Regions from separate parts of the Homo sapiens genome. Here all the other regions are linked to region 2. The links are contacts of gene promoters, found by promoter capture Hi-C in blood cells and fetal thymus (Javierre and others, 2016). All regions are on one chromosome and are shown on one strand. The core of a region is centred on a gene start or on the middle of the fragment in contact, and the rest is flanking DNA. Distances in the headings are between cores, read along the strand shown. Region 1 holds the start of PPP2R5A (protein phosphatase 2 regulatory subunit B'alpha). Region 2 holds the start of ANGEL2 (angel homolog 2). Region 3 overlaps LOC124904506 (a long non-coding RNA gene).

Region 1 (3,970 bases), core at 1,401-3,900, 730 kb after region 2:
GAGCAACGAAAGTGAAAAAATAAAATAAAATAAATAAAATAAAAGCAAAACCTATCAAAGCTGCATCTCCTGGCTTGAAACCAACCAAATGTTTAATATTCAATTACTTTTATTAAAGTATACTATTAAGAAGTACAATACTAAGAAACTAGAATATCTTACTAAAAAGCAAATTAAATAACTATGAAATAACCCTAGCACCAAACCTTCAAACTACAGTTTGACAATTTAATGGGAGAAAAAAAATCAGTAGTATAAAAAAACTATGATATTTTAAATAAGTGTAAATTTTAAAATCTATGAATAGCAAAGACGATATTCTTTTATAGCTATGACATCATTCAAGAATTAAAGTCTTGGCAATGCCTATCATTATAGTCTACCATTTTGCTATGTAAATTTTAACAATTTTTATATGCTAAAGAGCAATCAAATGATAAATTCGATAGCACAGACTAATATCTCAAAATCTCTGTTCAAAAGCCAGTTTGATTCTAACTGTGAGATGTCATGATTTAGAAGCACTCCAAGAGTCAGGGCAAGGTAGGGTCTCAATAGGGTTCTGGAGCTGTTGTAGGTCAACTGTGATTTGATCTGGGGTTTTCTTTAGACTCCTTGCCAAACTAAGGCTGGATTCACAGGCCCAAAGACAAATGAGAACCAGACTGGCCTTGAAGGGGATGCTGCAGCTTTTTCAAATGAATTGAAAAATCTGAACATCAGATGATAGGGATTTCCGTCAGGTTGCAAATTTTATCTAAATATGTAGGAGCATTATCATCTTGTTCCAACATTTCTATCTCATAAAAAGCAAGGACATTAAAATTATAAAATTAAGCATGAGTAATACACAAAGAATAAACTAGAACACCAGGAAATAACATCGAAAATCCTCTAAACCTAGTGGGAAAAGTGAGCCAAAAAGAGTGCCAAGTTCTCCTGCAAGGCATTAGGCACGGATACCAATTTGAATTCCTGTACAAACCTACAAAGTCCCTGGAATCACTGCCTGGCAAACTAAGTTCCCATTCGACTGCAAAGCAACACTACCTACTCCTTCGTATTTCCAAATAGACCATGTGTATCGGCTCAGACAACAGAATATTTTAAATCTATTCCTTGAGCTAAAGGATACCATTTAAAGCTAACGATCCTGTGAATAAGATACTACACTGGTCAAATTTTAGGCTTTTTCTTTATAAATACATCCAAAGGCCAGCTAACTCTTAACCGTTGTTTGCATTCGGATTCCTGGTCTGATGACTCTTAGGGGCAATCAATGGGAAGTGAAGTTGAGAAGAAGGTGGGTGCAGACGGCTTTATAACTGTAAAAGTAAAGGACTAGCTAAAAGTGGCCGAACAGAGGAGCTGACACTCGGGAAAGTGAAGGTCGGGGAAGGTTCGTGCGGTTGTTAAAGCAAGACCGGGAAAGGGCAAACCTGGAAGAGGAGTGAAGGACTCTACTTCACGGGACGCAAGATAGGAAGTGCAGGTTAAGCAAGCGCGCAGGTGGGGAAGGGTGTTGGCCTCCCCTAGGATGGAAAGAGTTCAGGTGGGAATTAGAAGGAAACAGCCAAGACTTCACAGAAAACCTGTTTGAATAAGGAGGAGGGCGTGAGGTGACGCCAAGGCATTGTGGGGAACTCGGCTCACACACTACCAGTCCCAACTGAGCAGGAGAAACCCAGCAGGAAATGGCTCTGCTGGCGCAGAGGCAAGCGTTGCCAGCCCCTGCGCTCGCTGCTGGGGCTGCGCCCTCGGAGGTTACCTTTGAGCTGGGGCAGCGGGTGCAGCTCTGCCTGGCTGCCCTGGCTGCGAAACTGCGACGAGCCCTGGGAGCGCTTCTGCCTCTGCGCCTTGCGGACCGATTTCCGGGTGAAGCCGTCCACTTTCTCCGAGGCCGAGATGGCGGCGCTGGCAGCCCCCGCCGGCGGCGACGACGACGACATCTCCGCGGCCCTGACGCTTGGCAGCTCCGGCTGCTGCTTGCAAGGCACGGGCAGCGGCGGAGACGGCAGGAGGAGGCGGGGGAGAGGCGCGGGGTGCTCGCGCCCCTGCGCCCCGGCCCCACGGCCCTCCGGCCCCGGGACGCCGCCGAGCTTCTCCTCGCCGCCCGCCAACGCCTCACGGCCACATCTCAGCGCTGGAGGTTCCTGGTCCCCGGCGCGCGGCGAGCTCCCGGGGCTGACGGAGGGAAGGGCGGGGGCGGAGGGGGGTGAAGAAGTTGTTGACTCTGGGCGCGCAGAGCGGGTGGAAGAGAGCCCGAAGTTTAGACAACTGAGGCGGGGGCACGGGGGTGCGGGTGCCGAGCGCGCCTCTCGTCGCTTCTGCCCCCGTCGCCAGCCAGCCGGCCGGCCAGCACCTCAGCGGCCGCTGCCAGCGCAGCCCGCCCTGCCTGGAGCCTCCTCTCAGGGCGCTGCCATCGCGGGTCCCCTCGGAGCCACTGCCGCGGTGCCCGCTCTTCCCGGTCAACGCCGGCCCCTCATCGCCCGGGGCGCTGCCCCGTAGCCCCGGCCCTCTGCGTGCACACACTCGCTCCTTGCCGCGCTGGGCGGCCCGAACCCCCTCCCCCACGCGCCCGTCGGCCGCCCACGGAGAACCCCAGGCGAGCGACCGCTACAACTTGAGAAGGTGGTTGGTACAGGCGACTGGGGAGTGTGTGCGCGTGTGCGCGCGCCAGGGCGCGCGGCCCGGGGAGGGGCCTCGCAAGGGGTGGGAAGGAGGAGTTTGACTGACAACTTCCGCGGGGTCCCGCCCGCCTCTTGGTGCGGCGGCGGGGGAGGGGGCGGGAAAGCATGCCAGCCCTCTTAGCCAATCACACGGCTAAGCGGCAGCGACGGCGTGAGGTGCGGCCTCTTGAGGCAGAGGAGTGGGGCGGGCTGTGTGACGGGCTTCGGCCACAGCCAATCGTAAGTGAAGACGGCGAGCGGGGTGCCCCTGCGTCAGAACAAATGCGGCAAATCGCTTGGGAGGGAGGGGAAGCGCTCCTCCACCAGCGGGCATTTTTGCGCTCACGCGCGACTGCTCCAGGCTGTCATTGCTCTCCTGACCGTCTACGAGAAGACTGGGAAACTTGAGAGGGTGCGTTCAGAGAGCAAAATAGAGCGCCCCTTCCCTTCCCTCACCTCTCTGCTGGCCAATGAAGAACTGAAGCGATTGGTGGGGCGCCGGAGGGCTGGGGCGCGAAAGAGCGCCAGGTGTTACACCACTGAAAGGGGGCGCAGCAGAGGTCAGGTGGCGAGCAAGCAGTGTGATTGACGGGCGAGGGGCCCGGGGAAGGCGAGAAGGTGAGCTCGTCCAATCGTTGCGAGGTCTGGACACCTGGGCGGGTCTTGGCGCCTTACTGGCCCCAAACCGCAAAATTGGTAGTTGCGGAATAAATTTGTAGCTCTTGGGAGGTTCGGACTCCGCAACTCCAGAGAGCTACTCTCGCGTGGGGTTTGGGCAGTCTAGCATCTGCTGCTTCAAAGAGTTCTGCAAGTCCACGCCCTCTAAAAAGAGATTTCTCATTCCCAATTTAGTATCCTGCTAATTTTCACCCCTCCTTGAGCCAAAGGCCCTCAACTACTCCAACGAGAAGAGTACAAATTCATTGGTCAGTGGTGTGTGGATATGGAGGCTTGCCATGTACTCTTACCGGAATCTCTTTCTTGGAGATTCCGTCTAGATTTTGAATTTCTTAAGGACGAGGACTGGTCATCTTAGTTTTTCGTGCAGTGCTTTCCATACGGTGGCCGTTAATAATTATTAATCTGAACAGTCAGCCTCCCTTTGCGCCAATGGACCCAAATCTGTAATCCCCTCCCTCGAGCTCCAGACCTTTTCCTTTCAACATAATAAAAGTAATTGTCGTATATTTAAACGAAGCCACCTGATGCATATGTACAGAAGATTCCAAATTTGGCAGGAAGTTGAATTCTAGACCTAGAACCAAACATACTATCCTCAAAACATTTCCTCCTTCAGATTT
Region 2 (3,655 bases), core at 220-2,719:
AAATAGCAGTGTTAGATAAGCTTTGTTGAGGTATGAATTATAGTGCTGTTGACTGAGTTCAATGTTAATGAATCAACAATATATATTAAATAAGATGTCTTTAAGCGGAAACACACATACAACAAAACTATGTATTGATTAAGTTGATGAAAATGCGACCAGAGGCTTACAGGATCCTAATCCTGTATTTCCCTTAGGAGTAATGATTCAGTATTTACTAATTCAGTGTTTCCAGCAACTTTACAGAACCTAACTACTGCAAATAACAAGAATCAATTACATACTGAGGGAAAGGTTTTTTTCAAATACACTTTACTTCCTTTTATGCACCAGGGATAAGAAAAGCCTTCCCAAGAAATTACCACTGTTTCAAAGAGCCTATAAAAGCAGTGCTCCTGCCTTCTAGTATCCTTTTCCCCTCTACTCTCCACACTTTATTCTTTCTCGGTTTCTCTCTTCCTGTTTCTTGCAGGGTCTCCACTTAAATAATGTCTTTCAACAATCTACAGTCCTATAATACATTTAATAAAGGTGGACACACAAGACATACAAGTACTTTTTTTTTTTTTTTTTTTTTTTTTGAGACGGAGTCTCGCTCTGTCGCCCAGGCTGGAGTGCAGTGGCTCGATCTCTGCTCACTGCAAGCTCTGCCTCCCAGGTTCACGCCATTCTCCTGCCTCAGGCTCCCGAGTAGCTGGGACCACAGGCGCCCGCCACCACGCCCGGCTAATTCTTTGTATGTTTAGTAGAGACGGGGTTTCACCGTGTTAGCCAGGATGGTCTCGATCTCCTGACCTCGTGATCCGCCCGCCTTGGCCTCCCAGAGTGCTGGGATTACAGGCGTGAGCCACCGCGCCCGGCCCATACACGTACATTTTAAAGTGAGAGCTATGGCTGTGCTTCCGCAACATTAATTGCAAAATTCTGTGGTACCTCAGTTCCATGGGCACCCAGAGGATGCGTTGTTCAGCCTCAGCTGGGAATCTGCACTTTGGGCAATTAAAAATTTTCACTGCTCTGTTTATTTCTGCCGGGCGCGGTAGCTCACTCCTGTAATCCCAGCACTTTGGGAGGCCGAGGCGGGCGAATCACTTGAGGTCAGGAGTTCGAAACCAGCCTGGCCAACATGGTGCAACCCTGTCTCTACTAAAAATTCAAAAATTAGCCGGGTGTGGTGGCTCATGCCTGTAATCCCAGCTACTTGGCAGGCTGAGGCAGGAGAATCGCTTGAACCCGGGAGGTGGAGGTTGCAGTGAGCCGAGATCGTGCCATTGCACTACAGCCTGGGCGACAAGAGCGAAACTCCATCTCAAAAAAAAAAAAAGAAAGAAAGAAAGAAAAAGAAAAAAAAGAAAGTTTATTTCTGTTTCTTTAAGACGAAGTTCGGGTGTTTTGCCCTCTTCAGAAATGGTTGCACGCGCGTCCCACGCTCTGCGCATGCTCCTTGAGCAGAATTCCGGGTTAAGGCATTCAGGGACTCTGACTGCGCAAGATGGAGTGTAGGCCGGCCGGCGAGACTGCACCTCCCAGCATGCCTTGCAGCCAGGACTGGAGTCGGTACTTAAGAGTGATGGGGTTCCCTAGATACTTTAGGCCGTCGCATCGATTATAGAGATTGAGGTGGAACCCGGGGCCTGGGAACTGGACGCACGCGGAGGGCGAAGATGGAAGCCTGGCGCTGTGTGAGGAAGGGCTACGGCCACTGTGTGGTGGGAAGAGGCCGGTCAGTAGGGCTGGGTACTCGGAGGGAGGAGAGAGGGGCGGGCGGCCTGAAAGAGCGGGCGGGCGTCCGGGACTAACCCGGGGCGGGGCGGGGCGGGCTAGGGGTGGAAGGAAGAGGAAGAGGGTCTGGGCGATGGTGCATCCGGGACGAGCCTCCAGAGACCAAGCGGGATAGGTAAACCCGCCGCGCAGCTGGCGGGACGCTGGGCCAACGAGGTCTGGGGTCTTGGCGCGGAGTTCATGGGCCGCCGGCCAGGCTTGTGCCAGTGGCTTTGGATCCCTGGCCTGCTTCCCCCAACCCAGCCTCCAGACCAGCGCTGGCCTGCTCCACACACTCCGCAGCACCGTCCCGGGAACCGAGCGTCGGCGGGGAGGCCGCCTCTCCGCAGTAGGTCTCGGCGGGCCTGATCCCTTGGAGGCGCGTGTGTGGCACACGCCCAGGAGGGGCTTGATTTTTGTTGATGTGTTAGTGTCTTTCAAACTTTAGTCACTTGTATGTCATCCCTTACTGTTATGGCCAAGTTCTTGTTTCACGTGTATTATTTACTGGATATTTTTCTTTAAATTGACTCAGTTTTTTTTAAAAAGCACTTCAGTAGGTGCTGCCCACATTAGCTTCACCCTAAGCAGTGTCTGCAGAGTCTTGGATTTGATGTGCGATTATGTTTTTTCCTAATAAACTAACATAAGTATTTAGAAATTACAATCAAGTAATTTAACTGTGTACTCTGTGAAACCGACTCGTGTACCACCCACCACGCTTGGGAAACACAGCATGTATTATTACATAAGCGATGGGGATTTGGTTGTAACTCCCATAGGCCTGGGACTTGATGGTAATTCAGTTCAACAATGTTTCCTGAGTACCAGCTGTTTGCCAGGCACTGTGCTAGGCACTTGTGAAGATAACGGAATTAAAATGAATAAGACGGTTCTGTTCTGGCCCTGAAGGAGCTTAACATCTTAAGAGAAAAAAAAGTCTGAATAAATAACTGCAAATATAGATAATAGCTTTTGTAGTACAAGTATTATATTTCAATACAGTGGCTTATTAGCATAGAAAATGCATGGACCAAGTGCCCAAATTCCTATGGCTTTCAGAGTTATCACAAAGCAGTGTAGAATGCCCATGTTATGCCTTTAAAGATTTACAATTAAGTAGATTTTAGAGAACAACTAGCGAATACTTAAACTGTAAAAATTATAATAAAAATTTAAATGCTGTTAAAACGAGAATAACAGCGTATAAAGTTAAATAACAGTAAACGCAACTTAAACAAAATTCCCTTAGGGATGGGAGCGCACATTATTGATGCTGTGGTAGAAATGTAGCTGTTAAGAATTTTGGAGGAAAGGATAAAAGTCCTTCTCTGAATCTTAACATTTTGCCAAAGTAGTATAGTGAGAGGAACATGGTGCTTTATTAAGCTGAAGTGTTTCTTGAGAGCCTGAGAGCAACATACCTATTAAAAATGTTAGCGCCACTTTGGAGATGTTTTGGATGATGGGTTAAATTGAAGCTGTTGGTTTGGAGTGTTGGTGCATTCGTAGTACGTCATCCCCATCCTCTTTCATTTCCCCCAACGAGAATCATGCTTAAAAAAGAATGGAGAAATAAATTATCCACCCGTTGATTAGTAAGAGAAGTAGTTTTGTGAATTTATGAAGTTGTGGATAGGCTTTTGTTTTCCTAACTATACAAGTGTTTGGAAAAATCTGCCCTTGGTATAAAAAACTGTTCAGAAACTTGTTATTACTCCAAGTTGGAGGAGAGGTTTACTTTAATTGTAGTGTGATATGAGTTCCTTATTCGATTTCAGTATAATACTTGTTGTGTATTTTATTTTCTCATTGAGTTTTGTAGGTGCTTGAAAGCTACTCTGAATATCATTTTGATAGTTGATTCATCTCTCAGTTGAACTATGTACATTTT
Region 3 (3,510 bases), core at 260-2,759, 560 kb after region 2:
CACTCATAAGTGAGAGCTAAGCTATGAGGATGCAAAGGCATAAGAATGACACAATGGACTTTGGGGACTCAGGGAGAAAGAGTGGGAAGGGGGTGAGGGATAAAAGACTACAAACTGGGTTCAGTGTATGCTTCCCAGGTGATGAGTGCACCAAAATCTCACAAATCACCACTAAAGAACTGACTCATGTAACCAAATGCCACCTGTTCCCCAATAACCTATGAAAATAAAAAAAAAAATTAATGTCCCCCAAGCAGAGTGTTGGTGTTTGTTCCTAAGCACAAGAAGGCCGTGATGTCCCATACAGAGAAAACACGTGTATCAGACAAGCTTCTTTCAGACACAAGTTATGGTGCTGTTGACCATGAGTTCAGTGTCAATGAGTCAACCGTAGAGAGTAAAGAAGGTGTCTTTAATAGAAATACACATAAAACAAGGCTATGTACTGGTTGTAACCAGAGGCAGGCAGAAATCTAACCCTGTGTTTCCCCTAGGCGCAAAGGTTCAGTATCTGCTCATTCAGTGTTCACAGAGACTTTATAAAACATAACTACCATGAAGAATGAGAATTGACTCTACAGACACCTGTGCACCTGAGCCCACCTGGATTAGTGAGTCAGAATTCCCTGGGCTTAGGCCCTGGCACCTGAGTTTTTCAAAGTTTCACAGGCAATTCTGATGCTGGGCCTACATGGGAACCACCAAAGTCCAACCTCAGAACAGCCTGCGGGTCCCTGGACAGAGCCAGGTGACAACCTCAAAGCATAACTTTTAGCCACAACCGTGAGGTGGTGTGTAACACAGCGTTGTGTGGTGAGCATAGGGCTGACTCAGTGTTAGGGATCTGGAGACTCTGAGTGACCTCAGGCAAGTCATCTGACATTCAGAGCCTCAGTTTCCCCACCCACAACATGAGGATAACAACACCTGTGCACAGTGGGGTGTTTGCATAGGGGAGACTCAGACATGTCTTATGGGCTGGGACCCCAGGAGTACACTGGTGTGAGAGACTAAGGATGAGAAATAACTCATCCCAAGAGAAAGACTAGAGGTCTTGGTCTGAGAGTGATGAGCACCCCGCTGGGGAGGTCCAGGAGGAGGGACAGCTTGGAGGACCGCTTGGTGCTGGTCACTCAGGTCAGCCTCTAGCCTAGTCCTTGAAGGCTTGAGCCTAAGGAGACTACAGGGAAGGCTGCTCGCCCAAGAATCTTGGTGAGACCCAGGGAGCACACGGCCATGCAGCGTCAGAACTGACATGTGGCCCAGGGCAGATGCACGTGTCTCCCCTCCAAGGAGGGCGCCATGCACCACGGCAGTCCGGGACACTCTGTGGGGGAGGAAATCTTCACAGGCAGCATCCCTCCCTCTACCTGTGATGTAGCACCTTCTCGAGCTTTGGAGGCACTGAGGGCAGCTCCTGCAGATATCACCCCAGATCGCTGGAGTTGGGCAGGTGAGGAGTGAGCTCAGGTAGGATGCTTGCTGGGTCAAGCCCAAAAGGGAGGCCCAGAGGCCCTGCTCAGAGGCTGGGACAAGTGCAAAGCCTGAGAAAGACTGTAGTTCCTGTTTATGTGACCGGTTTCTACCCTAGACATGTATGGCTGGGGAGTGGGGGTCAGAATCAGCCACCTGTCAGCCCTGAGTGGCTGATTTCCACCTGATACTTTTAATAGCTGTGCTGATCACTATCGAAGAGTTTTAAAATGGTGCAGAGAGAGCCAAACACAGGAGCATTTTTTATCAGTCCTTTCAGACACAGCCCTGGCAGAAAAGGCAGAATTGACAGCAGGCTCTGAACTCCCACTGGTGGGCCTGGGTCCCACTGCCTCCCTCTACAAACCAGAACCAGGTGAGACCTATGGGTCTGCACAGCACTGACAAATTCCCCCAGTGAGCTAGTCCTGGCAGAAGAGGTGTGCCCGGGGCATCACGGTTCTCTCAGAAGCCTGATCTGTGCTGTATGCCAGCCATTGTTTACCCTCCCGGCCTGCCTTTCTGTCAACACTTATATTTTGCACAATGTTTCTTTGTTTGCTTTGGGTTGAGAAACTGTATTTTTTTCTTATTCACAATAGCCAAGATAGGGAAACAACCCAAATGTCCATCAACAGATGAATAGATAAAGAAAATGTGACAAATACATACAATGGAATATTATTCAGCCTTAAAAAAGAAGGAAATCCTGCCAATTGCAACAGCATGAGGAACCAAGAGGGTTTTATACTAAGTGAAAAAAGCCAGACACGGAACGACAAATACTGCATGATTCCACTTAAATGGGTATCTAAAATAGTCAGACTCATAGAAGCAGAGAATAGAAGGGCAGTTTCCAGGGGCTGGGGGAAGGGGAAATGGAGAAATGTTGCTCAATGGGTATAAAGTTTAGTTATGCGAGATGAGTAAGTTCTGGAGATGTGCTGTACAACATGGTGCCTGTAGATAACGATACAGAATTGCACCCTTTAAAATATGTTGAGAGGATAGATCTCATGTTTAGTGTTCCTACTACCAAAAAAACAAACCAAAACACAAAAGAACACAAGGAAATTTTTGGAGGCGATAGAGATGTTTAGTACCTAAATTTTGGTGATGGTATCACAGGTGTATGCATATGTCCAAACTCATCAAGATGTACTCTTTATATGTATGTGATTTTTTTGTGTATCTATTATACCTCAGTAAAGCTTTATAAATGATCAAAACAAAACTGTGTTCCCCCCACACACACCACCCCAATACAAACACAGAAGAGCTAGGCAAAAGGAAACTCTATAATGGCAGGGAACTGCTCTGATCCTGCCTGGTGGGCCACCTGCTTTGTGGAAGTTTTCACATCTAGTGTTCATTATTCTTTCTTCTGAGACTGTCTTCCTAGCCCCTCCCCTCCTCCCCCTCAGCCACACCCCCATCAGCCAGAGCTGCTCAGTCAGTCCTCGAGGAGGGCCATACATGTGTTCAGGGCTCCCAGCACTTCCTGCCACATAGCAGGTCCTCTGTGGATGTTGGGTTCCTTGTCTTTTCTTTTCTTTCTTGGGTTCACCTTGCAAAGGAGAACCAGTCAAAGACTCAGTCAAGTTACTTCAAGGAAAACAGATTTTCTCCATGAGAAAGACACTAATGGGGAAGGAAACAGAAACCCACGGCATCTGAGGCAGCAACCTTCTCTGTACCCTCTCCCAACGGCCCCAAGGTCTCCCACTCGAGTTTCTCTCCTCCCTCGGCCCAGCTTCTCCATCAGTTCTGCTCACACTTGGTGAGGGAGGGTGGGCATGGAGAAGGCCATGGCCTCTCCTCCTGGGAGCATTTTGAGACCAGGCCAGGCCACAGCTAAGGTGCAGATCAGCAGGGAGGCAGAGAGGGAGGCGTGTGCTAAGATGACTGGAACTGAGATGGCACCTGTCCTTTCTTCCTGAGATGTGGAGGCCCGCAGAGAGAAGAGCTGAGAACAGAATTACTGGCCTCTCCAAGGATAAGCCAGCCCTTCTTTCTCAGAGTAGAGCAGTTACTAAC

What was found. The method cuts DNA at HindIII sites, captures the fragments that hold promoters and counts their contacts. A CHiCAGO score of 5 or more calls a contact.
Region 1: a contact is called between the fragment with the promoter of PPP2R5A here and the fragment with the promoter of ANGEL2 in region 2, in 3 of 17 cell types (non-activated CD4 T cells, activated CD4 T cells and total CD8 T cells). The highest score is 7.5, in non-activated CD4 T cells.
Region 3: a fragment that was not itself captured here is called in contact with the fragment with the promoter of ANGEL2 in region 2 in 2 of 17 cell types (fetal thymus and naive B cells); the score reaches 6.3 in fetal thymus.

The regions. Positions count from the first base shown.
Region 1 is chr1:212,284,090-212,288,059 of GRCh38, reverse strand. PPP2R5A (protein phosphatase 2 regulatory subunit B'alpha) reads right to left here and starts at 2,650. Exons shown (of 13, transcript NM_006243.4): 1 at 1,769-2,650. The coding sequence starts at 1,949. LINC02608 (long intergenic non-protein coding RNA 2608) reads left to right here and starts at 3,039. Exons shown (of 4, transcript NR_125984.1): 1 at 3,039-3,081. RefSeq lists a silencer at 1,918-2,887 and an enhancer at 3,058-3,137. The HindIII fragment of the contact is 5,039 bases long and covers 1-3,970 here.
Region 2 is chr1:213,013,681-213,017,335 of GRCh38, reverse strand. It overlaps ANGEL2 (angel homolog 2), which reads left to right and starts at 1,469. Exons shown (of 9, transcript NM_144567.5): 1 at 1,469-1,723. The coding sequence starts at 1,665. RefSeq lists enhancers at 1,434-1,743, 1,456-2,043, 2,044-2,632. The HindIII fragment of the contact is 5,816 bases long and covers 23-3,655 here.
Region 3 is chr1:212,458,408-212,461,917 of GRCh38, reverse strand. It overlaps LOC124904506 (a long non-coding RNA gene), which reads left to right. Exons shown (of 2, transcript XR_007066870.1): 2 at 1-253. Among named protein-coding and RNA genes, the nearest start is that of LINC02771, 13 kb to the left of the region's middle. RefSeq lists an enhancer at 722-891. The HindIII fragment of the contact is 2,354 bases long and covers 333-2,686 here.